Linked DNA regions of Homo sapiens: region 1 is linked to region 2. The links are contacts of gene promoters, found by promoter capture Hi-C in blood cells and fetal thymus (Javierre and others, 2016). All regions are on one chromosome and are shown on one strand. Each heading gives the region's core, a stretch centred on a gene start or on the middle of the fragment in contact. The rest is flanking DNA. Distances are from core to core; before and after follow the strand shown. Region 1 overlaps CPAMD8 (C3 and PZP like alpha-2-macroglobulin domain containing 8). Region 2 holds the start of NWD1 (NACHT and WD repeat domain containing 1).

Region 1 (2,700 bases), core at 47-2,546, 260 kb after region 2:
GTAAAGTTGCAGGGACATGTGGACTTCACAGAAAAATAGGCTTCTTCCCCAACCTATGGAAGACACGCAGCATGGGGGGCTCTGCCTCGCACCAATGTTGCAACCCACCACAGGAAGACGGCCATTCTGGGGCCAGAGGGAGGTTGGGATGGCTGAGGGAGCGGAGTGCCCAGCATCCAGTCCTGGCCCCTAGCTTTTTTGTTTTTTGTTTTCTTTTTTAAGATAGTGTTTCACTCTTGTCACCCAGGCTGGCATGCGATGGTGAGATCTCAGCTCGCTGCAACCTCTGCCTCCTGGGTTCAAGTGATTCTCCTGCCTCAGCCTCCTGGGTAGCTATTACAGGCGCCCGCCACCATGCCGGTATAATTTTTGTATTTTTAGTAGAAACGGAGTTTCACCATGTTGGCCAGGCTGGTCTCGAACTCCTGACCTCGTGATCCCAGTATTTTGGGCTCACGCCTGTAATCCCAGCACTTTGGGGGGCTGAAGCGGACAGATCGCTCAAGTCCAGAAGTTAGAGAGCAGCCTGAGCAACATAGTGAGACCCCCATCTCTACAAAAAGCACACACACATAAAATTGGCCAGGCGTGGTGGCACATGCCTGTAGTCCCCGCTACTCAGGGGGCTGAAGTGGGAGGGTCACTTGAGCCTAGGAAGTCAAGGCTGCAGTGAGCCATGATCGCACCACTGCACTCCAGCCTGGGTAACAGAGTGAGACCCTGTCTCCAAAAAAAAATAAAAATAAAATACTGTTTCCTAACTTTGAACGTGCTAATGCCACAAGTGGGCTGGGCCTTCTCTTAGGATATGAACTCAATGAGTTGGGTCCTATCATAGTCCCCAAGTTCCTAGAGGGGAAAACTGGAAACTGAGGCCTTGGTTCTTTGCCCAATGTCAATGAGTGTAGGGCAGGATTCAAACTCAGGGGAACTGATGCTAAGGCCCCACATTGAACCCTGAAGCTGCCATTATTCTGATATCAGGAAAGCTAAGGCCTCCCAGGTCCTAAGATCTCCCTAGGGGGTTGGCGTGTGGCCATGTCCAACACTTTGCCCTAGGAATCCCGCCTCTGTTCCATGTTTTGCAATCTGTGACTGTCCCCAAATGTTGGGATCACCCTGAAAGCCCAGAAGAGGGATATCTGGAGTAGGGGAAGAGTGACATTCTTGCCGTGGAAGCTTGGGCAAATCATTTCACCTCTCTGAGCCTCAGTTTCCCCACCTGTAAAATAAGGCTGTTATCTCCTGGACAGAGGGTCCTGAGGCTCCAATGAGATGATGTGTGTGTCATGCTCAACATCACACAATGCACACTGTAGGTGGCTAATAAGTGTCATTCTGGCCAGGGGCCATGGCTCACACCTGTAATCCCAGTATTTTGTTAGGCTGAGGTGGGTGGATCACTTGAGCCCAGAAGCTTGAGACCAGCCTGGGCAACAAAGTGAGATCCCGTCTCTACAAAAAATCAAAAAACTTTGGCCAGGCGCAGTGGCTCATGCTTTGTAATCTCAGCACATTGAGAGGCCGAGGCGAGAGGATTGCTTGAGTCTAGGAGTTCAAGACCCGCCACAGCAACATGGTGAAACCCCATCTCTACAAAAATACAAAAATTAGGTGGATGTGGTGGTGGGTGCCTGTGGTCTCAGCTACTCGGGAAGCTAAGGCGGAAGGATCACTTGAGCCAGGGAGGTCGATGTGCGGTGAGTCATGATCATGCCACTGCACCCTAGCCTGGGCAACAGAGTGAGACCCTGTCTCAATCAATCAATCAATATTTTTTAATTAAAAAAATATATAGTAAGAAAAATAAATGTCATTCTACCTCCCCCTAAAGGAAGAATCTGCCTGTTTAAGAAGCTGGGCCTAAGGGACTCCCACAGCCAAATTTGGAAAATTTGAGCAGCAAAAAGAAGAATGTCAGCTGAGTGTGGTGGCTCATGCCTATAATCCTAACACTTTGGGAGGCTGAGGCAGGCAGATTGCTTGAGTTCAGGAGTTCAAGACCAGCCTGAACAACATGGCAAAACTCCATCTCCACAAAAAATAATAAAAAAAATAGCTGGGTGTGGTGGCACAAGCCCATAGTCCCAGCTATCTAGGGGGGCTGAGGCAGGAGGATCACTTGAGCACAGGAGGTCAAGGCTGCAGTAAGCCATGACTGTGCCACCACCCTCCAGCCTCGGGTGCTATGGTTTGGCTGTGTCCCCACTCAAATCTCATCTTGAATTGTAGCTCCCATAATTCCCATGTGTTCTGGGAGGGACCCAGTGGGAGATAACTGAATCATGGGGACAGTTTCCCCAATACAGTTCTCATGGTAGAGAATGAGTCTCGTGAGATCTGATAATTTTATAAGGGGTTTTCCTTTTCACTTGGTTCCCATTCTCTCTTGTCTGCCACCATGTAAGATGTACCTTTCACCTTCTGCCATGATTGTAAGGCCTCCCCAGCCACGTGGAACTGTGAATCCATTAAACCTCTTTTTCTGGCTGGGCATGGTGGCTCACGTCTGTAATCCCAGTACTTTGGGAGGCCAAGGCAAGCGGATCACCTAAGGTCAGGAGTTCAACACCAGCCTCCCCAACATGGGGAAAGCCCATCTCTACAAAAATACAAAAATTAGCAAGGCACGGTGGCAGGTGCTTGTAATCCCAGCCCAGGAGGCTGAGGCAGCAAAATTGCTTGAACCTGAGAGGCAGA
Region 2 (2,700 bases), core at 171-2,670:
CCTCCCAAAGTGCTGGGATTACAGGCATGAGCCACCGCGCCTGACCAAGTATCTGAAACTTCTATCCCTGAAAATATAGTAACACTATTATTATTACTTTTTCTTTGAGATGGAGGCTTGCTCTGTCGCCCAGGCTGGAGTGCAGTGGCGCAATCTCGGCTCACTGCAAGCTCCACCTCCCAGGTTCATGCCATTCTCCTGCCTCAGCTTCCTGAGTAGCTGGGACTACAGGTGCAAACCACCACGCCCAGCTAATTTTTTGTTTTTTGTTTTTTGTTTTTTATGTAGAGACAGGGTTTCACCATGTTAGCCAGGATGGTCTTGATCTCCTGACCTCGTGATCTGCCTGCCTTGGCCTCCCAAAGTGCTGGGATTACTGGCGTGAGCCACCATGCCTGGGTGACTTGTGAGTTTTTGAGACAAAGTCTCGCTCTGTCACCCAGGCTGGAGTGCAGTGGTGCGATCTCGGCTCACTGCAAGCTCCACCTCCCGGGTTCATGCCATTCTCCTGCCTCAGCTTCCTGAGTAGCTGGGACTACAGGTGCAAACCACCACGCCCAGCTAATTTTTTGTTTTGTTTTGTTTTGTTTTTTTTGTAGAGACGGGGTTTCACCGTGTTAGCCAGGATGGTCTTGATCTCCTGACCTCGTGATCTGCCTGCCTTGGCCTCCCAAAGTGCTGGGATTACTAGCGTGAGCCACCATGCCCGGGTGATTTGTGAGTTTTTGAGACAAAGTCTTGCTCTGTCGCCCAGGCTGCAGTGCAGTGGCAGGATCTCGGCTCATTGCAACCTCCAACTCCCAGGTTCAAACAATTCTTGTGCCTCAGCCTCCCAAGTAGCTGGGATTACAGGCATGCGTCACCACGCCCAGCTAATTTTTCTATTTTTAGTAGAGATAGGGGTCTCACCATATTGGCCAGTCTGGTCTTGAATGCCTGACCTCAGGTGATCCGCCTGCCTCGGCCTCCCAAAGTGCTGGGATTACAGGCATGAGCCACCGTGCCCGGTCTTGGAGTTTTAATGGTAATTAATCATGGCTAACATCTCACGGGCCCTTCCTGTGATGTAGGTGTAGTGTTAGTCTCACTCTCTATATAAATGCTTTTCATTGTCTCACCAACACAGGAAGTTAGTGAGAAAATTCAAGTGCAGAGTAGTGAAGCGTCACAGGCAAGGGACTTCACCTTTCTGCATCTTGTTTTCTTCATCTGTGAAACAGGATCATAATGTCTGTCTCTTGGGGTAATAATGTGGACTGCTAATGCCAAATGCCAACCAACTGCACCTCCTAGACTGTCAGCAAATGGCATCTTTTACGAGGAGCCGTATCAGCCTGGCACACAATAGTTAACCACTAAGTCTGGGCTGAATGCCCGGCTAAGCTGGTGCCCTAGTGCAAACAATCGCTTTCATTATCCCAGTTGCTGGGAGAATTGGGCAAGGAGAGACCCATAAAATACCTAAGACGAAAGTTACTAGGATAGCCAGGGGCTTGTCTTCCGGGTGGCGCCGAGGCCAGGAAACTGTCCTCTCTAACCTATTTCCCCAGAGGAGTCTAAATTGGTCGTTCAACTACCAGCAAAGGCTAAAGAGAGGCTGGAGCCCCCAGGACAGCCAGAACGCTGACACTGCAAAGGGCCTCTGTCCTTACTGGGGAAGCCCAGTCCTGCTCAGCTGTCTTCTTCAGCAACAAACAGAAGTCCAGAAAGAGAAACAGTTGTGGAGGAAGCTGTTGTGATGATAATTTACTGAGCACCTACTATGTGCCAGGCACGCCAGCCTTACCAGACAAGATCCTTGGGCTCATGGAATTCACTTTCTCGTGGGACAGACAAACAATAACATGTAGAAACATATCAGCTGTTGGTGAGTACCATGCAGAAAATTAAAATAAGGCGATGGCATTGGGAGTGACTTAAGGGGTCACTACGCAATGGGATGGTCAGAGACAGCCTCTCAGGAGGAGGTAGCATTGAAGCTAAAATGTGAACAACATGAACAGATGCAGCATAGAGCACTAAAGTACAGGACGTGCAAAGGCCCTGAGGTTGAAATAAGCTAAATGCATTAGACTAGGGGGTTCTCGAGTAAGGGGAATTCTGCCCCCTAGGGGACATTGCAATGTCTAGGGAGACTTTTTTTTTTTTGAGACGGAGTCTCGCTCTGTCACTAGGCTGGAGTGCAGTGGCGTGATCTCAGTTACTGCAAGCTCTGCCTCCCAGGTTCACACCATTCTCCTGCCTCAGCCTCCTGAGTAGCTGGGACTACAGGTGTCCGCCACATGCCCGGCTAATTTTTTGTATTTTTAGTAGAGACGGGGTTTCACCGTGTTAGCCAGGATGGTCTCGATCTCCTGACCTCATGATCTGCCCTCCTCGGCTTCCCAAAGTGCTGGGATTACAGGCGTGAGCCACCGCACCTGGCCGAGACTTTTTCTTTTTGAGATGGAGCCTTGCTCTGTTGCCCAGGCTGGAGCGCAGTGGCACGATCTCGGCTCACTGCAACCTCTGCTTCCCGGGTTCAAGCGATTCTCCTGCCTCAGGCTTCCGAGTAGCTGGGATTACAGGTACATGCCACCGCGCCAGCTAATTTTTGTATTTTTAGTAGAGATGGGGTTTCGCCATGTTGGCCAGGCTGGTCTCGAACTCCTGGCCTCAAGTAATCTGCCTGTTTTGGCCTCTCAAAGTGCTGGGATTAGA

Evidence for each region. The method cuts DNA at HindIII sites, captures the fragments that hold promoters and counts their contacts. A CHiCAGO score of 5 or more calls a contact.
Region 1: a contact is called between a fragment that was not itself captured here and the fragment with the promoter of NWD1 in region 2, in 2 of 17 cell types (M2 macrophages and M1 macrophages). The highest score is 8.8, in M2 macrophages.

The regions. Positions count from the first base shown.
Region 1 is chr19:16,980,634-16,983,333 of GRCh38, forward strand. CPAMD8 (C3 and PZP like alpha-2-macroglobulin domain containing 8) reads right to left here. Exons shown (of 42, transcript NM_015692.5): 14 at 1-53. Among named protein-coding and RNA genes, the nearest start is that of CPAMD8, 45 kb to the right of the region's middle. The HindIII fragment of the contact is 238 bases long and covers 1,178-1,415 here.
Region 2 is chr19:16,718,427-16,721,126 of GRCh38, forward strand. It overlaps NWD1 (NACHT and WD repeat domain containing 1), which reads left to right and starts at 1,421. Exons shown (of 19, transcript NM_001007525.5): 1 at 1,421-1,867. The HindIII fragment of the contact is 21,822 bases long and covers 1-2,700 here.